4 separate regions of the Homo sapiens genome follow, and all the other regions are linked to region 2. The links are contacts of gene promoters, found by promoter capture Hi-C in human tissues and cell types (Jung and others, 2019). All regions are on one chromosome and are shown on one strand. Each heading gives the region's core, a stretch centred on a gene start or on the middle of the fragment in contact. The rest is flanking DNA. Distances are from core to core; before and after follow the strand shown.

Region 1 (3,704 bases), core at 250-2,749, 640 kb after region 2:
GTCTTTACTGGTAAATGCCTTTTTTCAACACCTATTAGCTTCATCACTATAAAAAAATCTTATGTCTGTAAAAACTTTATCCATTTATTTCAACTTCCTTTTGATCTTTGTGTACCTAATTATTAATTTATACTTGTCCTACACATTTTTCCCATGTCTTCCTTTATCTTTTGTTTGTAGGTTTGTCTCATTTCTTATGTGAATACAAGTTCAAGGGCACAGATGTCCATTCCTCTTTTCTTCTTTTAACACTTCCACAATGCCTCCTGTATATACCAATGGTTTCAGTGGGTTAATGATCCCTCATTTTCCTTTTAAATAAACTATCTACTGACTGGTGGATAAGATATTCTTTGAGTTAAAGTTCTAAAACTACTTTTTAGAAAAACCACAAAACCAATCATATATTTACAGTAACTTCATAAGAAACCCATCTCTACTGTGACTCATCCTGAATAAAGAAGTAGCTCCCTTTCCAACCTCTTAATACATAAACCGAAACCACAAAGAGAGAACAATTTCCATGAATGAAGTTGTTATCAATGCCTATAGGAAAGCCATGGATTTAACTCCTTAGGCCTTAAATTAGAATCTTAATTTAACACAGTTCTCAGAAAGCTCAGTTACTGGCTTCCTCAGTGAAAGCTTCTAAATAATAAAAGCAACAAAGAAGAAAGGAAAACCAGAATGGGAATATGTGGAAATGGGAAAAATCTAAGAGTAGTGTGACCAAAAAGAGAAAAATGGGCCTCAACATCAAAGAAGGAGCAAACTCAGAATTCCACTATGGTTTAGTACATCAGTACATGCTCAAATCAACAACCCTGCAGCAATGAGAAAAAGATTCAAATGTGTGTAAGGTCTTTACTTCAAACTCCTAAAAGTCTGCAATAGCAAGATCTCTATCCCAAATACTTTCTAACATTTTTAAGGTGGCGCTTTAGTGAAACATACTTTTGTTATTTGGAAAATATGTGGAACTGCACAATTCCCAAGAATGCTAGATAAATGATGTATCACTTAAAGATTCTTATGGTTTCAAATAGCCCAGTTATTTCAATATCAACAGAATATTTCCAAAATGATAAAATTATAATTCTTTCTAATAAAAATACACTAACAATAGAGAAAATAAACGATAGTAATCCTCAGAAATAACCATGGATTAAATGTACTTTTGGAATATAGTCCTTTATTATAACTACCGATAATTACAGAGGTAGAATTCTATCAGTAGTTTTAAGAATGCCACCATCTCCAGATAATATTATAGATCAAATCAAGTTGGGTATAACCTGATAGGAAATAATCTATTTTAAGAACTGTAATTAATGTTTAACCATGTAACCCCCCCACCACGCCCCCATTTTCCTAAAACCCAGACATAAATTCATGCTTCGTGCTCCCTCTGCTGGCTCAAAAGCTACAGTTAATTCCCATTACAGCACACTGAAGGGCATTGATACATTATATTTGGGATCTTCACAATGTAATCCAGCTCCCTTCTTTGAGTGTTGATGAAAAACAAGAGAGGTGACAACTAGACCACAGTCACAAAGCTTTCTGAGAGCCAGAACAACTCTGGTCTTTTGACTCCCAATCCAGTGCTCTTTCCATTCCATAATGATCTCACTGCCTTCATGTATGAGACTATTACTGAACTTTATTTTGCTATGAGTTATTTAAAATCTGAAGCTCAGTAGCTTTGGGTTACACAGACTTTTCACTGTACTGTAATTACAACTGATAAGGAGATTTGACCAATATTCAGTAAAGATCTATTAGGCTTAAAGAGTGTCTCCATTTCTAATTTGTTTGAACAGTGTCCAATTTAAGACACCTACTGTAAAGTTTCTTGATATACTGAGTACTTAAAATGTCACCTAATGTGATTCTACCATTTGCTTACAAACCATGTCACAACTTTTGACTTGGAATATATAGTTACCACACAATATATCTTCAGGTCTGTCAAAACCATAAAGTTATTTTGTTGTGATGATGATGATGATGATGACAACAACGATGAATAGGCTTATAGTTACCATCTATAGAGTATCTATTACACAACAAATACAGGATTGGGTCTTTAGAGAAATCATTGTCAACATAAGGTAGATATTACTATCCCTATTTTACAGAGAAGGGAGCTGAGGGAAAGTAAATTGCCCAAGGTCTGTTTAACACGAAGTATCTACTGCTTCCTCTGTATGTAAATGCTTTGATATTTTGTTCATTCTTAATCAGCAGAGATAGCAACAGTAAAATAATCTCTTACTACCAGCACCATCATTTCCACTTAAGGCAAAAAAAGAAAGCAAAAGATACTTTATTCAAAGCATGAATCTGTTGAACTTCTTTAAAGTTTATACTAAAGTGGAGAGGGTTAATATTTTCCTTACTTTTGGTAGAGGAAATTACATGACCTAGACTATAAATGTTAGTATTTAATTCCAGTTTACTTTTGTATAATAGATGTATTTAATTATTTGTCAAGTGATCTGTTGTATGGAAAAACCTAACTCTAGTCTGATAACAATGCTAGTTAGATAGAAACAAACAGTCCCAGATTAAAGAATCTAATCTGTTCAGTCAAAAAGTAAATATTTATTAAGCTAGAATATACAAGTCTATCTTTGTAAGGAAGACTTTTTTCTTGATAAGAGATATAAATTATTATCTAAATCATGGACAGCTTTTATTCAAAATGAAGTTTAATTTCTGTGTTCCTTTTGAAACCAGAAAACTATAGATGTCAGTGCCCATCCTCGTTCTCTGGTAGTGATTAGTTGTTATTTTCATAAATGGGAATCATATTAAATAAAGAATTTAAATAGGAAAACAATGTTAAAGTGAACACCTTTCTCAATTATTTATCAGTAACCTATATGGACAGTACAGGCAACAAATGTCAATATTCTAGAAATGAGAAAGTAGCCTATGGTAAACTCCACATTAAGGAACTTAAAGAAAATTGATAAATGATTGTAAATTTTAACCTTGCACAATTTAACATGATAAACTTGATACCTGGGGCACTACAGCTAGCATCATATAATATTTATGGATACCAATGATTTTTCAACTGAAAGATAAAATAACCTCATTTTTGATGTTATGCAGAAAGGAATATAGGCTAATTCAGACACATTTGTATTTAAACACCCACTCCTCCATTTAATAGCTCATGGGATTTCTGACACTTAATTTTTCTGAGACTCAGTTTCCTTATACTTGGTGATAATGATGGTGGCAGTTAAGAGTTGCTGTGATGGTTAAATTGAGGGAATTAATGTAAAAACCCTTAAGAGAGAACCTATGGAAAAAGTCACCATTCAGTTCCAATTGATTTCTGGCATGGAGGACTGTGGGCTCTGCATTGCCAGCTATTCCAACTTGTTATATGTTAGCAACAAATTCTAACTTCAAAAAACCAAAACCAAACAAACAAAAAAAACTGTGCAAACCAAACACAGCACCTCTCTAGCCTGAGTCCAGGCTGCAGGCCGTTAGTATGCAGTTTCTGATTTGGAGAATCACTGGAAATACCACGTCATGAAATGCAGCAAACCATCTAGAGTCAAGGTCGTGTTGGAGTTAGATGGGTATTTTAAACAAAAGAGATGTGCTCTGGTAAGAAAAAGTCAAGGATAAAAGTTAAGATGATTTATGAGAGAAACCCAAAGCAAAATGAATGTTTCCGT
Region 2 (3,895 bases), core at 1-2,500:
AAAAAAAAAAAATTGGCCAGGTGTGGTGGCGGGCGCCTGAAGTCCCAGCTACTTGGGAGGCTGAGGCAGGAGAATGGCATGAACCAGGGAGGCAGAGCTTGCAGTGAGCCAAGATCACGCCACTGCACTCCAGCCAGGGCAACAAAGAGAGACTCAGTCTCCAAAAAAAAAAAAAAAGAAAAAAAAACTTAGAAATTCTTTGCTCAAGTATCACTTCCTCCAGGAAGTCTTCCTGACCCTCTCCCAGACCCCACCCACCCTCCATCCAGTTGGCTGCTCCAGGTTGTGTGGTGGGGGGAATTTCACAGCACTTTGTGTTAAGCGCTGACTTATCCCTTGTATAATACTTTCATTGACTGTAGTCCCTAATACTGGACTGAGCTCCTTGAGCGCAGAGACTGTGAGTCTTACCTGTTTTGGCATTCCTAGACACACCTGGTCTGTGGAAAGTGCTCACTAAATGTGAATATAAACTAATGAATAAATGGGTTTCTACAGCAGTTTATACTGCATCACACAGTTCCTCTAATGAATTTCTAGCCCCCTTCCCTGTTGGGGCATACAGTATTTTATTCAGTATTTCTCCTGAAGGCCTCTCTGTGCCAAGCTCAGTTTTAACCAAAACATTGGTGATCTGGTTAAGTCATTACTGAATTATCCACTACGTTGAATTCTCCCAACCACCCCGTCCCAGCCCTTAGCTTGGCCGAAGGAAAATTAATTGGTTGCAAAGTGCGTATCTAATTACAACAGCCAGCCCCCGACACAGAGATGCTCAAATGTTAATTATAACATATGCATCTCAATAACCGACGGTGGCATTTAGTGCAGCATTAATCACGCCACTTGGGCCCCCCAGTGCATACACAAAGCTCCTTTTCATCTGCCATTAGCACAGACTTTGCACTTTCGGCACGGACGTTCTCATCCTTAAAGCCTTTCGGACTCTAAAACCAACGTTTCCCTGTAAGCCTGGACTGCGCCTAAGCCCCCAGTTCTCCCACCGCAGAGGCCCCCACCCAGGGCTGCGCCAGCGCCGTGGGGTCGCTGGGCGGCGGGTTTTGGCGTCGCTAGACTGGGCTGTCTTGGCAGCTAAGGCGACATCCCGAGCGTCCTGGGGCCACCCTGCTCTCCAGGGCCCGCCATCCTGGAAAAGAAAGGCGAACTACATTACCCAGCAGGCCTCCAGCCGCCCTCTTTCCTTTCAAGTCTTTGCACGTGGCCGGAGGGGAGGGCGGGGCCTGAACGTCACTCTCCTACATTCTCTTTCCCTGTGTCAGATCAGGGATCATTTTTTTTCCTTCCTCTACTCCCTCCCCCCTACCCGCCCCTCCCTCCCTGTTTCCCTTCCCTCCCTCCCTCCCCTCTCTGCTGGGTCTGTGCGCTGGGGCGCCCGATCCCCTCCGCAGCTGGGACGCTCCGAACTCGAGGCAGGAGTCGGCTCTCCGGAGCCTCGTCCCTCCCTTCCCCTTCCCTGCCCCCTTCCCCCACCCCCGACTCGGGCTTGGCGCGGCGGCCAGAGGAACCCCGAGGTGAGCATCTCCTCGCCCGTCCTCCTCTTATAGTCATCTCAGCTTGCTGATCGATTCGGGGACCCGGGAGGAGGGCTGCGTGACGTGGGCGTGCTTATAGATAAATCCGGGAAAACCGCCCCAAACAATCAGCCCCCTTCCCCCCATCCCTGCTCCTGGGCCAGCGGGGTGTCCGCACCCATCTACCATCCCCTCCTCCCCCTCGGTGGGGAACTGCACTCCACAGTGTCGCCCCCTCCCTGGGTTTGTCCCATTCCCTGCCGGGTTCCCCGCCCCGCGGGGTGTCGTGGCCCTGGAGCTCCGGCGCCAAGGGGGGCTCTTGGGGGACGCACGGCTGGAGCCCGGCTCGCTTTGGAGCTGCGCGGTGTAGCCGCTGTCATGTGCCGGGTTCCGACCTGGGAGGAGGAAAAGAGCGAGCGCGATTCCTCTCCCTTTTGTTTTGAAGCCCGCATTTGCTGCATCGAGCAGTTGGTTTAGTATCAGCCAAACTTGCAGCTGTTCAGACCGCGCTCCGCCGAGGTAGGGAGCCCGTCTCGGGGTGGCGTTTGGGGGCCGGGGGCTGCGGCACTCGGGGCTGCGGGAGGGACCCCGAGAGTGTGTCGCCACGCCGCCCCTCCCTTCCCCGGTGACTGATTGTGTCTGTGGCAGCGGGCGTGTGTGAGTGTGCGCGCCCGTCCCCGCGGGCTCGGGGATGTCTGTGGATGGCTGTCGTCTAGACAGGGCGCAGCCCCCTCCCTGCGTCCCCGGTGAGCCCGCGGGCCGCGGGGGGAGCGGGGGATGGGAGCAGAGGAAGAAACCAAATCGGTGGACCCGTTGCGGTCTCCCCTTTGGTTATTCCCAACGGTTGTGGTTCTGTTGGCTTTTTTTATTATTCCTGTCGCTGCGGTGCAATCGGGCCTGGGGAATAGATACGCCCGGCGGAGAGGGGTTCACTTGACAGGCTCTGAAAAGCCACCTCTGGGTGGCGAGTGACCCGAGAGGCCGTGGGGTGGGCTCCGGCTCGGGTTCATCAGGACGACGAGCAGGTAACTGTCCCGGGCGCCGGTCATGGGGGAGGGCGGGCGGGGGGGCGATGGCTTGGGCTGCGGCGAAGGTCTGGGGCCTCGGAGGGCCGCGTGCCGGTGCCTGGATGTGGCCGGAGGGGGCGTCCGGGACACCGCGCGCCTGAGCCGAGTGTTTCTCTATTGATGGTAAAAGACAATCGGGAGGGGGGTGGTCCGAGCCCGTTATCTGGGCGGCGTTGGCTCTGTTTGGTTCCGCGGAGTTTTCAGGGTTGGGGCTGGGGGGTGTGAGCACCGCGGGGTGTGCGGCGTGTAGAGGGGAGGGCTGACTGGCGGCGCCGCGTGCGTCTCCACCCCGAGGAGTGAGGCGTCGCCTCCCCCGCCCGGCTGTTTGTGTGTACACACGGCTCCGGTGTGTGTGGGGGGCGGGGACCGCAGACCGCGGCGTAGTGGGGACAAGCGTGGGCCCCGATCCTCCGCGCGACCTGTCCCGCCAGCCCCCTCCTTGTCTAAGTCGGGGTCGTGTGTCCCCGCGCGCGCGCGCCCGAGTTACTTGGAGAGGGGACCGTGCGGCTGTGGGCCGGGGAAGACCGTAGGGTCGCGTGTGCTGGTCTTCGGTGCAGGAGTCCCAGGTCCGCTGTGCGGCCGGAGTCACACAGCCCCTCCCTCCGCGTCCGCGACGCCCCGTGACCCGGCAGACTGGGGGTCCACCCGGCGGCGCGGGGGGTTGGTTTGGCTGCGCCGCCCCCAGTCCACGCTGGGGTGACCCCGCACCGAGGCGTTCTATGGGTGTGCGTGCCCGCGCTCGCCGCCGCTGCCTTCGCAGACCGGGGAGAGAGTCAGCGACTGCCAACCGCAGCCCCGGCTCTTCAGTCTGGGGACAGTGGGAGCCCAAGCCCAGCGCGCCCCAGCCCGGCCCAGGCCGCCGCCCGCCCGGCGCTGTGTCTCTGCGGCCCGAGGATTATCCCCCAGTCCAGGGGCCCGCGCGACCAAGGAGGAAGCCGCTGGAGCCGCCGGCTCGGCCGCGGCTAGAGCCTCCGTAGGGCGAAAGTGACACAGCGCGAGAGAGCGCCGCCGCTGCTGGAGCCAGGGCCGAGAGGAAGGAGCCGCCCAGAGCGCAGGGAGGGGCCGCCGGCTGTCCGTTCCCAGTTCCTCCTGCCCAGGGCCCGATCTGGGCTGAAAACCTCAGGAATCCAGGCTCCTAGCAGGCTCGGGCTGCGCGAGGAGATGGCCTGGCTTTCAAGAAAACCCAATTATACGTGAACAGAATGCACCGAACAGACGCTAGAGGATGGCCAGGACACGCTCAGGTTGTCTGGGGAAACTCCTGAGTGTTTGACACAGGATTCGATTTACACACAG
Region 3 (3,808 bases), core at 342-2,841, 870 kb after region 2:
ACAATTTTGCATGAACAATATTATGTTATACACATGGTTTTATAACTGGCTTTAACTACTTAATATGCTGTAGGTCCTTTTCCATATCTAAAAACATAGGATTGTTTTTAACGGCTATATGTTGTTCCAGTGTGCAGATGCACCATTTTTATTTATGTAGCCGATCTTACTGGTGGACATTTAAGTTGTTAGCAATTTTCTACCATAAACATTGCTATGAATGTCTTTACACATGTCTCTCCACATATATTTCTGAACTTGTCCAATTATGTCCTTAACATAAATCTGGAAGTGCAATTGCTAGGTCAATGAACACTTCTGTTCTGATGAATGTCGCAAATTATATTCCAGAAAGATTACCCACCAGTAGTGCATAATTGTGGCTTATAATCTTCCACACATTGCTAGATTTGCAAAGTTGCAAATCAAGATCTTTTGACACCAAATCCAGTTATCTTTAAACTCAAATAAGTATGTGATGATAGTAAGCAAGCATAAAGCTTTATTACAAATATGGATTGTTTTCCCTCTAAAATGGCCTACAGAGGAACCCATAAAGGGTATGATGTCTAAGTAGCAAATTATTACCGTGCCATGTAAATTTAGAAGGAACCCTATTCAACATGACCTAAATTCTTTAGCTGTCCCAGGCAATCAATTGTTGTATTAAATAACAAGAGGGACGGGGCACATAAATATTGTACAGAGTTTATAACCTCTATGGACTTAAACTCATGTGAGAATCCTCTGGCATAACAAACGGCTCTGGCCTAAACTTCAAGAATGGTCTAGTCAACAAAATACAGAAATATTCAGTTGTGACAGAAAAAGTAAAAACTCAGTAAATGTGGGCTGGGCACAGTGGTTCACACTTGCAATCCCAGCACCCTGGGAGGCCGAGGCAGGTGGATCACCTGAGGTCAGGAGTTCAGGACCAGCCTGCCAACATAGCGAAACCCCGTCTCTACTAAAAATACAAAAATTAGCCGAGCATGGTGGCTCACACTTGTAGTCCCAGCTACTCAGGAGGCTGAGGCAGGAGAATCACTTGAACCTGGGAGGTGGAGGTTGCAGTGAGCCGAGATTGCACCACTGCACTCTAGTCTGGGTGACAGAGTGAGACTCTGTCTCAAAAAAAAAAAAAAAAGAAAAAAAAGAAAAAAACTTAGCAAATATTAAATAAAAAATTCTGGATTATATTTGTTCATTATAAAGACACATGATTGACTATATTGCTGCTTAAGCAGAAAATGCTTCCAAATGTCATGAGCCACAATTCAGGAGGTGATGGAAGAGAAACAACCATGGCCTTGATGGTAGATCTGCTCTCCACCACAACTCAGGGGAGACCCCACCACAGCTCATGAATGATGGAATAAAAAGACCAGAGCTTGGTGTTAAAGCATGTATCCCTTCATTCATCAACAGAGTACCACTGTTGGATGTCAATTAGTTTTCCCATCCTGGCAAATTAATAAGGAAAAAATATTTGTTGGTAGGGAAAAAAAGCCTCTTTCATATGAAGCCTGTAGTTCAAGAATTCAAGTTTCCACAATAAAAATAAATATATAACATGGACCATCTAATAAACTAAATACCTAGTCCTGATAATTGTCACATATGAAAATATGCAAGAGGTATTTACAATATGTTGGTCAATTGGTGTAGCAGGTCAGGCAGGCTACAGTTTGCAAGTGAAATACTCACAACTGGGGTCAACAGAAGCAGCACACTTAAGCTAACTCAGCTGATGTTCTGTGACTTAGGTCGTGGAGCCTATACGTAGTACCTAAAGAAACGATTTGTGCCTCTTTAGTGGTTTCTATCATCCAACACTTTTTTCCTTTGTCATCTCAATCTGCTTTTCTACTAACTCATCTGTCTCTTTCTTCTTCATCTGAACACTTTGGATTTTGTGTGTGTGTGTTTTAGAGACAGGGTCTCGATGCATTCCCAAGGCTGGATTACAGTGTCATGATCCCAGCTCACTGCCGCTTAGAACTCCTGGGCTCAAGCAATCCTCCCACCTCAGCCTCCCGAGTAGCCAAGACTACAGGTGTGTGCCACCATGCCCAGCAAATTTTTTTTTGTAGCAATGGAGTCTCATTATGTTGCCCAGGCTAGTCTAGAACTCCTGGCCTCAAACAATCCTCCTGCCTTGACCCCCAAAGTACTGGGATTACAGGCATAAGCCACAGTACCCAGTCACTGGATTTTTAAGTATTATAAGAGGTACCAATGGACACTGCCAGGCCATGGTGTTGGTCCTCAGGGATTAAGGTTAAAAAAAAATAAGAAGTTGAATAATATATACTCTTAGAAGAAAAGCTTACCAATTGGTTGTATAATAACACCACAACCTCAAAAAAAAAAAAAGTCTTATTATATACATTTAGCAGACTTCACTGATCTGAAATTTACTAATTCAGGATTGGGGGCTGTTTGTCTAAAATTGAGTTGAAGCCTGGACAACATAGTGAGACCTTTTCTCTACCAAAAAAAAAAAAAAAATTAGCTGGGCATGGTAGAGTGCCTGTAGTCCCAGCTGCTCCTTGAGCCCTGGAGGTGGAGGCTGCAATGAGCTGCCCTCCAGCCTGGCCAATACAGCAAAACCCTGTCTCAAAAAAATTAAAATTAAAATTAAAATTAAACAAATTGAGTTGAAACTGACTTTTGTGTTATACTTTAAAGAAATCATTTTGACAAGGGAGAGGGGATTTAGAAAAAGTATTATTTAACCTTCTACAAAAGAAATGTGTTTAAAGATGTTAGCATATTATTGTCCATATGCAAATAAATTTGCTGAAATAACTTGCATTTTGTACAGGCCTATATACACTATTCAAAGTTCTTTCACCTTTATTATTTCATTTGATTTCTTTTAAAAACCCTGAGAAGTTGACCGAGGAAATGGGAGTATCCTCACTTTACAAGTGACAGAAATAGAGAAGCAGAGTAACTTGTCCAATGTCACGGTATAAGAATAAACATATTTAACTTCCAGATTAATACTCTTTCAATATGAATAATATTAAATGAGATACTCTTAAGGCAAACCCACATAATATCAACCTAGAAACACTCCAGCAACTAGTTGGAATTTCTATATATTCCTAAAAGAAGTTGTGTCACACATAAATTATTATAAAAAGTATATCTACATTATAATTCCAATCATGCAAAAATTATGTGAATTATAAAGAATTGGAAGAAAACAAAATTTTAAATCTAATAAGGAAAATGGTAAGATGATAGACGACTTTCTTGTAACTGCTATGAAATCATAAACTATAGTGTGGTCGGGAAGCTAAAATTTTAAATTAAGTATTCCCTACTTCACAGTTTTCTGTAATTTAGACTGGTTTTATTTTACTTTTAGGCACACCGTTCTCATATATGAATCTCAATAATGAAAAGTGAGAAATTAATAGCTCAAATATTTTTAAGAAAAGCAGATAGGCAAAAAAATTGTTGGGGGAGAAGTTATAACAGACCTCTGAACACAGGTTTGCTGAACAATCAAACTGTAAGTTTCATAACATAAACACTGAAAATCCTTAGTCCCTTCAGCTGAAAGTTCCGCCATAAAATTCTTTCAAAACTGACATTTTATATTAATGATGTCAATTTCAGCCAACAACATACAAATTCTGATAAATATATAATGTTAGTCAAAGATATAACCTGAAAAAATCAACAAGTAACGATTCAGGAAAGGACAGAAGCACTTCTGAAGACATTTTCCCCCTTACCTTAGCAAAGAGAATTACAGAAATCATTCACAAAACTAACAAGAATCAGCCAATTC
Region 4 (3,537 bases), core at 740-3,239, 890 kb after region 2:
TATGGAAAAATTTAAATATGAACTGGGTAGCAGAAATTATTGTTAATTTTGTGAGGTGTGATAATGGTATTATGGTTATGTAAAAAAAAAGACTTTACGATACTTAAAAAACAATAATGAACAAAATATAGAAACAACCCAGTGTCTATTAATTTCTGAATGAACAAAATGTACTATATCCATACAATGGAGTATCACTCAACAATATCCAAATGTCTATTAATTTCTGAATGGACAAACAAAATGCAGTATATCCATACAATGGAGTATCACTCAGCAATAAAAAGGAATGGAGGCTGGGTCCAGTGGCTCATGCTTATAAATCCCAACAGTTTCAGAGGCAGAGGCAGGAGGATCACTTGAGGCCAGGTGTTCGTTCAAGACCAGCCTGGGCAACATGGCAAGACCTTATGTCTACAAAAGATTTTTTAAAAAGCAGCCAGGCATGGCGGTGCATGCCTGTGGTCCCAGCTACTCAGGAAGGTGAAGTGGAAGGATCACTTGAGCCCAGGAGTTCAAGGCTATAGTGAGCTACGATCGCACCACTGCAATCCAGCCTGGGCAACAGAGTGAGACCTTGTCTCAAAAAAAAAAGAAAAAAAGGAATGCAAGTATTGGTGCATGCTACAACATGTATGAATATTACATTCAGTGAAAGAAGCCAGTCACGGCGGGGCGCAGTGGCTCACACTTGTAATCCCAGCACTTTGGGGTGCTGAGGATTTCTTGAGCCCAGGAGTTCAAGACCAGCCTGGGTAACAGAGCAAGACCCCATCTCTAAAAAGGTAGAAGAAAAAAAAAGAAAGAAGCCAGTCACAAAAGACCACCTATTGTTACAATTTCATTTACATGAAACGTCTAGAAGAGGCAAAGTTAGTAGTAGTTATTAAATTAGTGGCTGGACGCAGTGTCTCACGCCTGTAATCCCAGCACTTTGGGAGGCTGAGGAAGGTGAATCACTTGAGGTCAGGGGTTCGAGACCAGCCTGGCCAACATGGTGACATCTCATCTCCACAAAAAATACAAAAATTAGCCATGCATGAAGGCATGCAACCGTTAAGCCCAGTTACTCGGGAGGCTGAGGCCGAAGAATTGCTTGAATCCAGGAGGCAGAGTTTGCAGTGAGCAGAGATCGCGCCACTGAACTCTAGCAGACTGAGACTCCCTCTCAAAAAATAAATAAATAAATAAGTGGTTGCTAGTGCAATCTAGAGTTTGGGGGAGTGTCTGCTAATGGGCATGGGATAGGGCATGGGATGGTTCCTTTCTGGGATGATAATGTTCTAAAATTGGTGATTGTTACACAATTCTGTGAATAAAAACACTGAATAATACACTTTAAATGGGTGAATTACATGATATATGAAACATATCTCAAAAAGTGTATTATTTTTCTATTGCTACTACAAAAGTTATCAAAATTTAGTGGTGTGAACAACATAAATTTATTATCTTACAGTTCTGTAGGTCAGAAGTCTGACACTCAATGAGCTAAGATCAGGATGTCAATAAGGCTGCATCCCTTTCCAAAGGCTCTAGAGGGAAATCTGCATCCTTGCCTCTGCCAGCTTCTAGAAGCTGCTCATATTTCTTGCTCATGACCTCCCTACCATCTTCAAAGCCAGCAAGGGCAGGCTGAGTCCTCCTCACATCACATCTGACTTTCTCTTCTACCTCCCTCTTCCACTTTCAAGAAGCCTTGTGATTACTTTGGGCCTGCCCAGATAATCCAAGATAATCTCCCTGTTTTAAGGTCAGCTGATTAGTAACCTTAATGCCTTTTGCTACTTTAATTCCCCTTTGCCATGTAATGTAACATATTCAGATTCTGCAGACAAGGACATGGACATCTTTGGGGGGCTACTATTCTGCCTATCATAATAAAGCTCTTAAAAAGTAAATAAAAAATTTTTAAATCTAGTTATTGAGTGTATGGGAATTCAATATTCTATTCATTCTTCATTATTATTGTCTGACAGTTTTTGTAATAGAATTAAATATGAGATATTATTTTTCACCTCTGAAACTGGCAGAGGTCAAAGGTCTAAAATGCATCAAACTGACAAAGATATGGGGAAACACACCTCTCATGCATTGCTGGTAGGTATGCAAATTGCTACAACTTCCATGGTGCACAATTTGGCATAGCTACCAAATTGCAAATGCACATACACTTTGACCCAGCAATTCTACTTCAAGGAATTTATACTAAAGATATATTGTGTGTATGAAAAATGATGTATGCGGCAGTAACTGTTACAACAAAGACTGGAAACAATCTAAATGTTCATCAACAGAAAAACCAATTAAATATATTCTACAGATACTCCACAGCCATTAAAAAGAATAAGGAAGTTGCAAATGTGCTACATATACAAGATATATTTTACTTAACTGTGGAAAAAAAGGCAAGGGACAGAACAGTACGTGTAGTATGCTACCATTTGTATTTAAACAATTTTGTGAAACTATATGGGATATATGCTTAAGTAACCTATATTATCTCTAGAACGATTCAAAATAAACTGCTACCAGTGATAACCTCTAGAGAAGGGAGGTGGCTACTGAGTTGGGTAAAAAGAAAAGCTTATTTTCTACTTTCAAATCTTTTGGATTTTCTACTGATCTATGTATGACAGATAGACTAGATAGATAGACAGAACATTTCTAAATTTTTTTTTAATCAGCATACCACACAAGTTGATATGGCCCTCTATTCAAATTTTCAATCTCCAGGCAATCTCTTACCTGCTAGTTGGTGCAGGGAAAGAAAATGAGAGAAGCTGATTCCAGAACGGGTCATTCTCAGAGATAGATTCCGTGCCTGATAACTTTTTCAAGTACTCATTTTTAGGAAGATCGCCGATTCTGCTGCTATTCGATCCCATCTTCTAGCTTAAGCAGATAATTTGTCCTTAAACCTGCATTTCCAAAAGACAACCTATAAAAAATAAAAATAAAAACTTTAAACTTGTTCAAAAGTCATCATGCTTTGTCTACCTATAAAAAAACTATAAACTTACTAAAGAAAATCACACATTTCTGTATTTATAAATATATTAGACATCAGATACAAAGTTACAAGAAATATGGGGCTAGGCCAGGCATGGTGACTCACGCCTGTAATCCCAACACTTTGGGAGGCTGAGGCGGGCAGATCATGAGGTCAAGAGATTGAGACCATCCTGGCCAACACGGTGAAACCCCGTCTCTACTAAAAATACAAAACTTAGCTGGGCGTGGTGGCACGCACCCGTAGTCCCAGCTACTCAAGAGGCTGAGGCAAGAGAATCACATGAACCCAGGAGGCAGAAGTTGCAGTGGGCCAAGATCGCGCCACTGCACTCCAGCCTGGCGACAGAGCAAGACTCCATCTCAAAAAAAAAAAAAAAAGAAATATGGAGCTAACACCTGTCTTAGCCAATACAAACACAAAAATCCGAATCTATATTGTACTTGTACCATGTATCTTAGGATGGGCATAGCTCTACCCAAGAAAATGTCTCAAAGCAAAATCATAATAATGGTAACTTATAA

What was found. Contacts are between HindIII fragments. The study calls those that stand out against the background at their distance.
Region 1: a contact is called between a fragment that was not itself captured here and the fragment with the promoter of CTIF in region 2, in 3 of the 25 tissues and cell types used here (dorsolateral prefrontal cortex, heart right ventricle and hippocampus).
Region 3: a fragment that was not itself captured here is called in contact with the fragment with the promoter of CTIF in region 2 in 2 of the 25 tissues and cell types used here (dorsolateral prefrontal cortex and heart right ventricle).
Region 4: a fragment that was not itself captured here is called in contact with the fragment with the promoter of CTIF in region 2 in 2 of the 25 tissues and cell types used here (IMR-90 fibroblasts and heart left ventricle).

The regions. Positions count from the first base shown.
Region 1 is chr18:49,177,558-49,181,261 of GRCh38, forward strand. All of the region lies in intron 14 of DYM (dymeclin), which reads right to left. Among named protein-coding and RNA genes, the nearest start is that of MIR4744, 130 kb to the left of the region's middle. The HindIII fragment of the contact is 6,578 bases long and covers 1-3,704 here.
Region 2 is chr18:48,537,781-48,541,675 of GRCh38, forward strand. CTIF (cap binding complex dependent translation initiation factor) reads left to right here and starts at 1,251. Exons shown (of 12, transcript NM_014772.3): 1 at 1,251-1,532. RefSeq lists silencers at 1,357-1,436, 1,937-2,296, 2,727-2,816, 3,137-3,616. The HindIII fragment of the contact is 11,515 bases long and covers 1-3,895 here.
Region 3 is chr18:49,408,153-49,411,960 of GRCh38, forward strand. The region is part of intron 2 of DYM (dymeclin); the gene reads right to left. Among named protein-coding and RNA genes, the nearest start is that of DYM, 51 kb to the right of the region's middle. The HindIII fragment of the contact is 3,355 bases long and covers 1-3,269 here.
Region 4 is chr18:49,427,507-49,431,043 of GRCh38, forward strand. DYM (dymeclin) reads right to left here. Exons shown (of 18, transcript NM_001353214.3): 2 at 2,749-2,941. The coding sequence starts at 2,888. Among named protein-coding and RNA genes, the nearest start is that of DYM, 31 kb to the right of the region's middle. The HindIII fragment of the contact is 7,598 bases long and covers 1-3,537 here.